2 separate regions of the Homo sapiens genome follow, and region 2 is linked to region 1. The links are contacts of gene promoters, found by promoter capture Hi-C in blood cells and fetal thymus (Javierre and others, 2016). All regions are on one chromosome and are shown on one strand. Each heading gives the region's core, a stretch centred on a gene start or on the middle of the fragment in contact. The rest is flanking DNA. Distances are from core to core; before and after follow the strand shown.

Region 1 (6,389 bases), core at 1,136-3,635:
GCCCTGGGAAGTCGCTTAGTCTCTGAGCTGGAGCCTTGTCAGCTGTGAAAAGGGCTGTTAACAAATGTTAACCTCACAGAGTTACTGAGGACTCGAATGAACTCACATTTGGGAAGGTCACGGGAGGGTTGAGTGCTGAGTGCTGTGACCACTGCGTCCTCACAGCGAGGGCTGAGTGCCACTCGCCAGCCCCAGAATCTGCCTCCCGTGCTCAGCGCCTGCTTCCTTCTGCAGCCCCCAGTCCCCGGCATGGATGAGAGCATGTCCTACCAGGCTCCCCCTCAGCAGCTGCCGTCGGCTCAGCCCCCTCAGCCCTCAAATCCCCCACATGGGGCTCACACGCTGAACAGTGGCCCTCAGCCTGGGACAGCTCCAGCCACACAGCACAGCCAGGCGGGGCCCGCCACGGGCCAGGCCTATGGGCCACACACCTACACCGAACCTGCCAAGCCCAAGAAGGGCCAACAGCTGTGGAACCGCATGAAACGTAAGTTGGCAGAGCTACGTGGAGGTCCGAGCGGTTGGGCCCTCATAAGAGCTCCTGGGTGTGAGGCCCGTGGTGTGTGCTGCTCCTTGTTTCTGGGTGTTGTGATCGCCAGGCTGGGGGTGGGGCTGCTCTGGACCAGGCACATGTGTGCTGGAGCCCTCCTCTAGAACCTGAGCGCTCCTCCCTGCATTTCCACTTCCTCCCGTCCCCTGGGGACCCCTGGATGTGCCGGGGAAGGGCCTAACCATAGCTTTCGCTGCCCTCACAGCCGCCCCTGGGACTGGAGGTCTCAAGTTCAACATCCAGAAGCGACCCTTTGCTGTTACCACCCAGAGCTTTGGCTCCAACGCAGAGGGCCAGCACAGTGGTTTTGGCCCCCAGCCCAACCCTGAGAAAGTTCAGAACCACAGGTGACGTCTGCCCCCTTGCCCCGTCGCAGCCCCACACTCTGCACTCAGCGTCTATGGTCCAGTCCCACTGGCCAGCTGCCCACCCTGAGCCTCAGTGTGCGCCTCTGAAAAGGGCAGAAGGACCCTCTCTTGGGGGTTGCTGTGAGCACTGAAGGAGACAGAAGGAAAACTTGGGGACTGCGTCCCGCTGTGTCAGCTCAGAGTGGCGGTGGGGATGGTCTTTTGAGTTTGGGATCGTCTCCAGCTGAGCCCCTCATCTGTCCTCCCGCAGCGGGTCCTCTGCCCGGGGGAACCTGTCTGGGAAGCCGGATGACTGGCCCCAGGACATGAAAGAGTATGTGGAGCGCTGCTTCACCGCCTGTGAGTCGGAGGAGGACAAGGACCGCACGGAAAAGCTGCTCAAGGAGGTGCTGCAGGCGCGGCTGCAGGACGGCTCGGCCTATACCATTGACTGGAGCCGGGAGCCCTTGCCGGGGTTAGTCTGGGTGGGGGACATAGGTGGGAGGGTGGTGCTGTGAGAGGCATGGGCTGGGTATGGAGGTAGGAGAGTTGCGGGTCCCAGGTACCAGGAGCTCCAAAGAGAAATGAACTGGAAAGTTGGATCCTGGGGGGATGAAGTCCTGGTTGGAGGGAGGCCGGTGGGGTGGGGTGGGGACCATGGGTGCTGGAGAGGCGTGCATTGCTCAGTGGTTAAGCGCACCCTCTGGAGACGGAAAACCTGGGTTCGCGTCTCATTTCTGCACTGTAGTAGCTGAGCCGCCTGGGGTAAGTGCCTTTCCTTTCGGAGGCGGGTCGGTACCTTGAGGGAGGTGGTGGCGGCTGTCCTGCCAGTGTCTGGCGGGGTTGGTGACGCCCTGCCCTGCTGTATTCTCAGGCTGACCCGGGAGCCTGTGGCTGAGAGCCCTAAGAAGAAGCGGTGGGAGGCCGCTAGCAGCCTTCACCCTCCTAGAGGGGCAGGCTCGGCGACAAGGGGCGGGGGTGCCCCGTCCCAGCGAGGGACGCCCGGGGCTGGGGGTGCCGGTCGAGCCCGGGGCAACAGCTTCACCAAGTTTGGCAACCGCAACGTCTTCATGAAGGACAACAGCTCTTCTTCCAGCACAGACTCCCGCTCCCGCTCCTCCTCCAGGTCCCCGACGCGCCACTTCCGCAGAAGGTACTGAGGCTCCCGGCTGGGGCTGTGTGTGAGGGAGGGGGAGGCGTTTCAGGCCTGACCCTCCTGCTTCTTCCTGCAGTGACTCCCACTCAGACTCCGACAGCTCCTACTCAGGGAATGAGTGTCACCCTGTGGGCCGCAGGAACCCGCCCCCTAAGGGCCGGGGCGGTCGAGGGGCCCATATGGATCGGGGCCGAGGCAGGGCGCAGCGTGGGAAGAGGTGAGACTGTGTGAGGGCTCGACACACGGGCCAGGGTGGAGGAGGGTACTGGGGACCCATGGGAGAAGGAGGAGGAGGGCCGGACAGGTGGACAGCCAGCTGCCAAAGGGGCGAGGCTGAAGGGGGGCTGGAGACGCCTGTCGCGCTCACTGCCCCTCATCCCTTCCTAGGCACGATCTGGCGCCCACCAAGCGCAGTCGAAAGAAGATGGCGGCGCTGGAGTGTGAGGACCCGGAGCGAGAGCTGAAGAAGCAGAAGCGGGCAGCCCGCTTCCAGCACGGACACTCCCGCCGCCTGCGCCTCGAGCCCCTGGTGCTGCAGATGAGCAGCCTGGAGAGCAGTGGGGCTGACCCTGACTGGCAGGAGCTGCAGATCGTGGGCACCTGCCCTGACATCACCAAGCACTACCTGCGCCTCACCTGTGCCCCCGACCCGTCCACCGTGCGCCCTGTGGCAGTAAGTGCCCAGCAGGGCAGTTCTGCTCTGTGAGGCCGTGCTGGCTCAGGACTTGGGGAGCCAACCCAGGGAGGGTGGCAGAGGCCACACGGGGGCTCTGGTATGGCAGGGGAAGCTCGGCCAGAGACGCCTCGGCTGGTCGGCATTCTGAGAGGAGCGCAAAGGCGCTCTGCTGCCCTGGAGCCCCGCGTGGCGGGTGTGCAGCTTGGCCGGCGAATCGCTTGACCTCTGGGCCGTGGTTCCTGGCTTAGGTGACACGGAGCATAAAGCCTTCTCCCAGGCCCGTGGGCTGTGGGGCGTGGGGGGCTGTGTTTCCAGTGTTTGGCGTAGTCACTGTTCTGCTGCAGAACCTGTGAACAGCCATGTGCTTATAGGGAAATGGGTGTGGAGGTGGCCACTCTTAACCCATGTCTTGTGGGTTTGTTTTCTCTTTTTTTGGGAGAGAGTCTGGCTCTGTCGCCCAAGCTGGAGTGCAATGGCGTGATCTTGGCTCACCGCAGCCTCCGCTCCCCGGCTTCAAGCGATTCTCCTGCCTCAGCCTCCCTAGTGGCTGGGATTACAGGCGTCTGCCACTACGCCTGGCTGATTTTTGTATTTTTAGTAGAGACGGGGTTTCACCATGTTGGCCAGGTTGGTCTCAAACTCCTGACCTCAGATGATCCACACACCTCGGCCTCCCAAAGTGCTGGGATTACAGGCGTGAGCCACTGCGCCTGGCCTTTTTTTTCTTTTTTTAATGTTGCAACTCTCCCACCAAATAAGTGGAAGCCGTTGGCCACGCTACCTGAGTTGTACTCCGAGTGTGAATTCAGTTCCCTTTTTCAGGTTTTGAAAAAGTCGCTGTGCATGGTCAAGTGCCACTGGAAAGAGAAGCAGGACTACGCGTTTGCCTGCGAGCAGATGAAGTCGATCCGGCAGGATCTGACGGTGAGACTCGCGCTGGGAGGGGCCTGGCCTCAGCCAGTCCTGCCTCCCGCTCCTTGTGACTCTTGTTCTCGCCCCGCTGCCCCAGGTGCAGGGCATCCGCACCGAGTTCACGGTGGAGGTGTACGAGACCCATGCCCGGATCGCCTTGGAGAAGGTGAGCTGGCCTCTGCGGGCCTCCCCAGCCCCTTTCCTGCTGCCGTTCTGCCCTCAGCACCCTCACTCTGCTCTCCTCCCTCGGTGCCTCTGCCTTCCAGGGTGACCATGAAGAGTTTAACCAGTGCCAGACGCAGCTCAAGTCGCTGTACGCCGAGAACTTGCCTGGCAATGTGGGCGAGTTTACTGCCTACCGAATCCTCTACTACATCTTCACCAAGAACTCGGGAGGTGAGGCCCAGTCCCCAGGACAGAGGCCATGGTACCCAGGGTTGAGCCCTGCTGACTTCACCCTCTTTGTCTTGGTGCTAGACATCACCACGGAGCTGGCATACCTCACACGAGAACTGAAGGCAGATCCTTGCGTGGCCCACGCCTTGGCATTAAGGACAGCCTGGGCCCTGGGCAACTACCACCGCTTTTTCCGGCTCTACTGCCATGCACCCTGCATGTCTGGCTACCTCGTGGACAAGTTTGCAGATCGGGAGCGCAAGGTCGCCCTCAAGGCCATGATCAAAACGTATGTGGTGCCAAGCTCCCTTCTGCCTTTGCTCTTCCCATCCTTCCGCCTCGCACCGCCCCTCAGACCAGCTCCTGGCCGCAGGCCTCCCCCAGCCCCCAACCCTTGTCCTGGTCCTTGCTTCCCCATCATCTTTCTCCATTCAGCCCTCCCCTCTCCAGTTCCTCTTGCTCTCCTTGTTGGTCACCTCTGTGTTCCGGGTCACTCCTCTCCCTCTCCCCACTGTTCCCAGCTCACTGCCTCTGGGGCCTCTTCTCCACCCCATCTGTGTGTCTCTTCCTCCTGTTCTCTCCTGCCTGGACCCCCTAGTTCACTCCTTGCCCTGGGCTTCCTCAGAACCCTGAGGTCTCTGCTTTCTCAGCTTGTCGCTGTGCTCCCACCATAGAGACCATCTAGACAGCCTCTGGTCTACCAGGACAAGGCCCAGTCCCACTCAGCTCCTTTGAGAGCACCAGAAACGCTTAGGGAGACACCTGTGTTGAGGCCACACTGGGCGCGGTGCCAGAGGCCCCTGGTCAGGCCATGCCCCTGCAGTGTCCTTCGTTCACTAGACATTGCGCCTGGCTTGCTGTGGGTGGGGATGAGTTGCTTGACTCATGTTTAGACGCATGGTTCTGTCTGGTGATTGAGGTGCCCAGGCGACGCTGGGCAATGTCAAGAGAGGTTTTCGCTTGTCACAGCAAGGGGATGCTCTTGGCATCTAGTGAGTGGAGGCCAGGGATGCTGCCCTGCCACTGCCATTGGGCCTCAGAGCTCAGTCTTGCCAAGGTGGAGAAATTCTGGTCGAAGAGGTTGACCGGTAGACTGAAGAGGCCTTGAGAGCCTGGCCAGGTGGCTGTCCACGTGAGGTCATAGTCACAGCATGGAGGCCTTGAGAGCCTGGCCAGGTGGCCCTCCACGTGAGGTCATGGTCACAGCATGGGGGCCTTGAGTGCCTGGCCAGGTGGCCCTCCACGTGAGGTCATGGTCACAGCATGGAGGCCTTGAGAGCCTGGCCAGGTGGCCCTCCACGTGAGGTTGTGGTCACAGCATGGGGGCCTTGAGAGCCTGGCCAGGTGGCCCTCCACGTGAGGTCATGGTCACAGCATGGAGGCCTTGAGAGCCTGGCCAGGTGGCCCTCCGTGTGAGGTCATGGTCACAGCATAGTTTGGAGCTAGGGAGGGACTGTCAGCCTGGAGGTTTGGAGACTCATTCTGGAATCTAGTGTGGGTCAAGCCAACTTCAGGGAGAGGCTGAGCCAGGGTAGGAGTCACAGGAGCAGACGAGGATGTGGGGTGCCGTGCACAGAGCTCCATGACCAGCTTGGGAAGTTAGAAGGAAGGGGAGGCAGGAGGCTGCTTAGTCTGCTGCCATGATGGGCCCCATGAATGGTGGCTCTCAAGCTTCTGTGCTACACAGGGGTGTGTGGTTGGGCGAGTGTCCTTGTTAATTGATACCTAATTGGCCTTGGTTGGGAACATAGCCATGAGTGCCCCTCGTGGGTGGGGCGCCAGTCTGTCATTGACCTCATTGTGTCAGCACCTTCCCCCCAAGGAGGCTGACCCTGCCCTGCCAGCTGAGACTGGGAGACGGAGTGGGCTCTGATCCCAGGGCTTCCAGGAAAGCTCTGGCTTTGGAGCAGAAGCGGGTTCTAGGACTTAGTGCCCCTCACTCGGTGCCTGGGTTCCTGTGTGTGTGGAAAGGGTAGGGCTGCACCCTGTGGAAGAGGGTTCAGGGAGCTCTGAGGACCTGGCTCGTGCTAGATGCTCAGTCAGTAGTGTGTTTTAGCAGCAGCCGGAAGTGACTGCTTTCAGTGTGTAGTGGTGAGTGCTAGCTGGCACCCCTGCGCCTGGCTTCCCAGACACTGTAACGCAGGGCAGGGGAGGCAGCGAGGGCTGGGTCCCCACGGTGGCCCTGGCAGCCCCGCCATCCCCATCCCCTGCCACGTGCTGCTCCCTCCATCTGGTCCCTGCCCCTCAGCCAGCGGAGGAGCCCGCTGGGCCCTTCCCTGCCCGTCCCCGCTCCTCCCTGGCCCCCGCACAGGTAAGTGAGGGTGAGGGGGGCACAGGGGACTGGGGTCACTA
Region 2 (6,389 bases), core at 1,390-3,889, 830 kb after region 1:
GCATCACTTCTGGAGGCTCTCGGGGAGAATGTTTTTCTTGCCTTTTCCAGCTTCTAGAGGCCACACTCTTTCTTTGACAGGTGGCCCCATCACCCCAAGTTCTGCTTCCACCTTCCCATCTCCATCACTGACTGCTCCTCCTGCCTCCTTCTCACAAATACTCTTGTGATTCCATCGAGCTCACCCAAATAACTGGGATAATCTCCCTATCTCAGTCACATGGGCAAAGTCCCTTCAGCCATGCAAGGTAACTTATGCACAGATCCTGGGAATTAGGACACGGACATCTATGTACAAGTCTATCAGTTTATAATACATGGCCGGGGGCAGTGGCTCAGGTCTATAATCTCAGTACTTTGGGAGGCCAAGGTGGGAGGATCACTTGAACCCAAGAGCTCGAGACCAGCCTGGGCAACATAGTGTGTCCCCAGCCCTACAAAAAAATACAAGAATTAGCCATGTGTGATGGCATCTGCTTATATCACAGCTAGGCAGGAGGCTGAGGCAGGAGGATCACTTGAGCCCAGGAGGTCGAGGCTGCAGGGAACTATGACTGCCCTACTGCACCCCAGCCTAGGCAACAGGGGGAAGACCCTGTCTCAAAAAACAAAACAAAACAAAAAAAAGAGGGTGATCATATAATTTTTCATCTATAGCAAGACATTTGAGAGCAAAAAGGGACTCAATAGTTACAGAACCAGGCCAGGTGTGGTAGCTCACGCCTGTAATCCCAGCACTTTGGGAAGCTGAGGTGGGCAAATCACAAGGTCAGGAGTTTGAGACCAGCCTGACCAACATGGTGAAACCCCATCTCTACTAAAAATACAAAAATTAGCCAGGCATGGTGGCGGGTGCCTATAATCCCAGCTACTCGGGAGGCTGAGGCAGGAGAATCGCTTGAACCCAGGATGTGGAGGTTGTAGTGAGCTGAGATTGTGCCACTGCACTCCAGCCTGGGAGACAGAGCAAGATTCCGTCTCAAAAAAAAAAAAAAAAAAAAAAAAAAAAAAAAAAAAAGGCTACAGAACCAGCCTGGCTAACAGGGTGAAACTCCATCTCTACTAAAAATACAAAAAAAGCCGGACGCCTAAAATTGTACCCTGCTCAACAGGCCCCTCTTAACCCCCTTCCCTGCTGTAGTCACCTCCTCAGCACGGACATGATTATCTAACACACCATACATTTTGCCTATTGACCTTGCTGATCATCTGTTTCATCCACCAGCATGGAAGCTCCACAGGACAGGCCTTTTTGCTGATTTAGGTCACTGCCACGTTCTTACCAACAGGAACAGTGCCTGGCTGAGATTTGGCACTCATTAAAGATGTGTGGACTCAAGGTGTTGAATGGGGGACTGGGAAATCTCACAGGAGCCAATAGGCTCCTGTGTGCACTTTATTTTATTTTATTTTTGTTAGAGACAGGGCCTCACTCTGTTGCTCAGGCTGGAGTGCAGTGGTGCAAACGTAGCTCACTGCAGCCTAGAACTCACTGACTCAAGCCTCAGCCTCCCAAGTAGCTGGGACTACAGGCACATGCCACCATGCCCGGCTAATTTTTAAAAAAATTTTTGTAGGGATGGGGTCTCACTGTGTTGCCCAGGCTGATCTTCCCACCTCTGTCTCCCAAAGTATTGGGATTACAGGCATGAGCCACCTTGCCCAGCCCTGGGTGTGCTTTACAGGGGACTTGAGAATTAAATGGGTGTCTAACACTTGCGGGTACATGACATAGAGGGATCTATGGTTTATGCGGAAAGCTAATGGGGGCAGGCGGGTTACTCACAGGCAGAGCACATGCTTGTGGACCTGCTACAGTGGGGATGTATGGGCTGTACTGGGGTCCACATGAAGATATAAAGGACCCTATGACGAGCACAGAGAATATATGGGGGTCTAAAAACATAACACAGGGAAACTGAGGGGGTTCTGGAAGCTTCTCTGTAAAGAGAATCCAAAATCACTCTGGGCTGTGGGTAGATATGGGGCCTTGACATTGGTGGGGACACAGACTTACCCTTACCCTGAATGGGTGGCCTTAGGGGGCTGGGGAAACAGACATGAATTTTGGGTCAGCAACTCCAAGAATTCTTTCCCCTCTCTGTCTCTGTCTCCCTCCATATGTCCCCACCTCTCCCCAGCACGTGTCCCTCCACCTGTGTGTACCCCCGGCCCTCTCTACAGCTCCATCTGCGCCCCCTCTCCCCCACCTCTCTGGTTGGTCTTCCTCTCTCTGTCTCTCTGAATCTCTGACTCTCTCCATCCCTCTGTCGGCTTCCAGCAGCTTTCTCTCCCTCTCCCTGTCTGTTTTCCCGGCTTGCCATTCCTTCCTTCTCTTCTGTCCCTGTCCATCTCTGCCCTTCCTCCCTCTCTGCCTCAGCCTGTCTCTGGTGGTCTCCATCCCTCTGGCGTCTCTGCCTGTCTCCCGTCTCTGTGTCAGCCAGCATCTCTCTTTGTGTATCTCCATCTCTGCCCCATCTGTTGGGTCCTCTCTCTCTCTCTCCATCCTTCCCTCCATCCTCTCTCCTGCATCCTCCCACCTCCTCTCCATCCCTCCAGCTGGAGGCCCGCCCCCTGCCCCCCCTCGCTCCCCCTCCCCCCTCCGAAAGGGTTAACTTTGGGGAAGGGCCCGGAGTCCCCGGATGGTGATGTCAGCGTGCCGGAGAGAAAGGACGAGGTGGCGGGGGGAGGCGGAGAGGAGGAGGAGGCGGAGGAGAGAGGGCGCGTGGGGGGGCGGGGGGGACCTCGGCCTGCAGCATCCGCCGGCCCGCACCTCAGACCCCCCCGGCGGGGGGAGGCGCAGGAAGCGGGGGGCCGGCCAGAAACGGGCTGGGGAGGGGGGGCCCCGCAGCCCCCCTGGGCCATGCTGACTCCCGGGGCCTGACCCCCCCGGGCCAGCCCCCCCTCCCCCAGCTCCGCGGCCCGCCGACTGGGGGGGGCCAGCCCAGCCCCCTGGGGACCCCCGGAGAGGTGGGGGGCAGCCGGGGGGGCCGGGACGGAGCGGTCGCCGGCCCCCACCGGAGAGACGGGGCGACGGCCGCAGGGGGGGCGGCCGGGGGACCGGTCGGGCCGGGACCAAGGGCACCATGTCGTCCGGGGCCAAGGAGGGAGGTGGGGGCTCTCCCGCCTACCACCTCCCCCACCCCCACCCCCACCCACCCCAGCACGCCCAATATGTGGGCCCCTATCGGCTGGAGAAGACGCTGGGCAAAGGACAGACAGGTGAGCCTAGCAGAAGGGGACACCTGGGGCGGGGGGCAGGGTGGAGGTGGCGGCAGAGGCGGGACTCAGGGTATTCAAATGGCAGGGGCTGGCTGCCCAGACCCCTGGGCCCCTCATAGAGAAGGGACTTGGGATTCAGACTCCTGGGTCCCTGGATGGAGGGGGTGGGGGGCGCAGACTCAGGTCCTGGAGGAGAGGGGCTGGGGGCCTGGACTCCTGGGTCTGAGGGAGGAGGGGCTGGGCACTGGACTCCTAGGTCTGAGGGAGGAGGGCCTGGGGGCCTGGACTCCTGGGTTTCAGGGAGGAGGGCCTGGGGGTCTGGACTCCTGGGTTTCAGGGAGGAGGGGCTGTGCTTGGACTCCGGAGTCTGAGGGAGGAGAGGCTGGTGGCCTGCACTCCTGGGTCTGAAGGAGAAGGGCTTGGGGGCCTGGACTCCAGGGTCTGAGGGAGGAGGGGCTGGGGGTCTGGACTTCTGGGTCTGAGGGAGGAGGGGACTGGGGTCCTGGACTTTTGGGTTTGAGGGAGGAGGGACTGCGGTCCTGGACTTTCAGGTCTGAGGGAGGAGGGCCTGGGGGCCTGGACTCCTGAGTATGAAGGAAGAGGGTCTGGGGTCTGGACTCCTGGGTCTGAGGGAGGAGGGGCAGGGGTGCTGAACTCCTGGGTCTGAAGGAGGAGGGGCTGGGGGCCTGGACTCCTGAGTCTGAGGGAGGAGGGCGGTCGGAACCTTGAGTGTTGGGACAGGGAGTTTGGGGCCCCAGTGCTCCAGTCCCCATAGGGGCAGAGGCTGGAGGGGCTCCAGGGCCAGGGAGGGGATGGAGGCGGCCTGCAGAGTGGGGCCGGGCTGGGACCTGAGGTTCTTGCTGCAGTACAGCTGCAGACCGGGGTGCAGTGCATCCATCCTGGGAAACCTCTTCCCTCCCCACTGTCCTCTGGCCTCCAGTTCTCCAGGCAGCAGGTTGGGGTGACAGGGGCCGTGGGGCCTAAGACATTCTCCCCTTCTCTGGCATGCTGGCTCAGAGTGGGAAACAGGATGGAGGGTGGGAAGGTGGGCTGCAGCAGGCGCGTCTCCTGGAGCGGCTGTGGAAAGGGCGTTCATCCTCTGCTGTTGCTGAACGCTGGCCACCGGCCGCGGCCTCCTTCCTGCCGGATGGATGGTGGGTGGAGGTGACATGGGAGCTGAACGCCCAGAGTCTCTATGAAGCTCAGGGCCAGAGCTGGCAGGAGTGGGGACCGACTGGGCCGTAACTGGGAGCTGAGACCCTAGGGAAAAGGAGAGGGTCAAAGTCCCAGATCCTGAGTGGTAAGAGTGTGAAGGTGTTGCTGACCTGAATTCCTGAGTTACAGGAGAAGAAGGGGTCAGACCTGGACTGGGTCTGAGGGAGGAGGGGCTGGGCCTGGAGTGCTGGGTCTGAGGGAGGAGGAACTGGGGGTCTGGAGTGCTGAGTCTAAGGGAGGAGGGGCTGGGGGTCTGGAGTGCTGGGTCTGAGGGAGGAGGGGCTGGGGGCCTGGAGTGCTGGGTCTGAGGGAGGAGGGGCTGGGGGCCTGGAGTGCTGGGTCTGAGGGAGGAAGGGGCTGGGGGGGCTGGATTCCTGGGTCTGAGGGAGGAGGGGCTGGGGTCTGGACTCCTGGGTCTGAGGGAGGATGGAATGGGGGCCTGGACTCCTGGGTCTGAGGGAGGAGGGGCTGGGGGTCTGGACGCCTGGGCCTGCAGCTTTAGGGGCTAGTCAGGGCTAGGTCTGTGGCTTTGGGGGCTCAGGTCCTGGAGTCGAGGGTCCTGAGGAGAGGTGTGGGCTAGGAGACCGGACATACCCTTGGTGTCTGTGTGCTGTCTGTTAGGGCTGCCATGAAGAGAAGACCCAGGAAGGCAGTTGAGGCTGGGGGTTCAGGAGAAGGTGGAGGGTGATCTGGGGAGGGGCAAATGTGAGATTATATTCACTGGGAGGGGATTCAGGAGGAGGTGGAGGGTGGTCTGGGGAGGGGGCAAATGTGAGACTATATTCGTTGGGAGTCATAGGGTCTCCAAAAGATTGAAAAGCAGAGAATACAAGGAATTGATGGAGAGAGACAGAGAAAGTGGGGGGGCGGGGGCTTGGAGGAGACAGACTCGGGGAGACACGGTGAGGAAAGAATGCGTGGCAGGCGGGCTCCCCAGGACGGAGAGGGTGAGGGCCAGGGGGTGGCTGGCAGAGGAGAGGGGCACCTGGCTGGATGGACAGTCAGGAGGAACGGACTGGCAGGAGGGAGGGGAAGGGTGGTTTTGTGGGAGTGTGGGCTCTCAGCCCCAGGAGTTCAGGTCTGATGTGTTCAGGCCATTGTTAAACAGCCAGCCCAGGAGGAAGGAGCAAACAGGGTGGCCAAGGGGGGACATAGGCGCTGGGGACGAAGGGGACCCGGCGGAACACCCCACATTTTCACCCTGCTCCTGCAGGGCTGGTTAAACTCGGGGTCCACTGCATCACGGGTCAGAAGGTCGCCATCAAGATCGTGAACCGGGAGAAGCTGTCGGAGTCGGTGCTGATGAAGGTGTGTGCGCCTGCTGCAGTGTGCCTGCGGGTGGGGGGGCCTCCGGGGCTGAGGGCAGGGGCGGGGCCGTGCTGACCTCTTTTCCCGTGTCCCCACCCCTCTTGACCCTCAGGTGGAGCGGGAGATCGCCATCCTGAAGCTCATCGAACACCCACATGTCCTCAAGCTCCACGACGTCTACGAGAACAAGAAATATTTGTAGGTATTTATAGACACCCAGCCCTACCCCATCCTCCCTCTCCAGGTTACCAGGGTGGGACTTCTCCAGAAACAGGGCCTAGGGGGACCTGGGGGACCTGCAGCTCTCCAGGCTGGACCGCTGAAGGCCCAGTTCCTTGCCTGTTGCACAGGGAAGCCCCTGACACACAGGGAACCCCACTGTTGTCACGCTGTGTTGGGCCTGAGGCCAAGGGCAACCATCCTCCTACCGTGTCCCCAGCTCCAGCTCCTCGCCCTGTGGCACTGCATGGAATGCGCTCTGCTAGACAAGCAGGGTGCCCTCGACCAGACCCAATCTGCTATGGGCAGATGCCTCCTGTTTGTAAGGCAAGGGGCCTAGCAAAGCCCAAAGGATCTTCCCAAACCCCAACTCTGGAGCACTGGAGAGCCCCCCTCCTCCCCCGGCATAACTTCGGGTGCCGTGGC

The links. The method cuts DNA at HindIII sites, captures the fragments that hold promoters and counts their contacts. A CHiCAGO score of 5 or more calls a contact.
Region 2: the fragment with the promoter of BRSK1 here is called in contact with a fragment that was not itself captured in region 1 in 1 of 17 cell types (naive CD4 T cells); the score reaches 5.7 in naive CD4 T cells.

Annotation. Positions count from the first base shown.
Region 1 is chr19:54,454,196-54,460,584 of GRCh38, forward strand. LENG8 (leukocyte receptor cluster member 8) reads left to right here. Exons shown (of 16, transcript NM_052925.4): 6 at 235-487; 7 at 756-897; 8 at 1,169-1,372; 9 at 1,772-2,050; 10 at 2,130-2,270; 11 at 2,441-2,726; 12 at 3,552-3,653; 13 at 3,739-3,807; 14 at 3,908-4,037; 15 at 4,119-4,326. Among named protein-coding and RNA genes, the nearest start is that of LENG9, 6.4 kb to the right of the region's middle. The HindIII fragment of the contact is 6,641 bases long and covers 1-5,706 here.
Region 2 is chr19:55,281,358-55,287,746 of GRCh38, forward strand. It overlaps BRSK1 (BR serine/threonine kinase 1), which reads left to right and starts at 2,640. Exons shown (of 19, transcript NM_032430.2): 1 at 2,640-3,221; 2 at 5,650-5,744; 3 at 5,857-5,942. The coding sequence starts at 3,086. The HindIII fragment of the contact is 8,428 bases long and covers 1,934-6,389 here.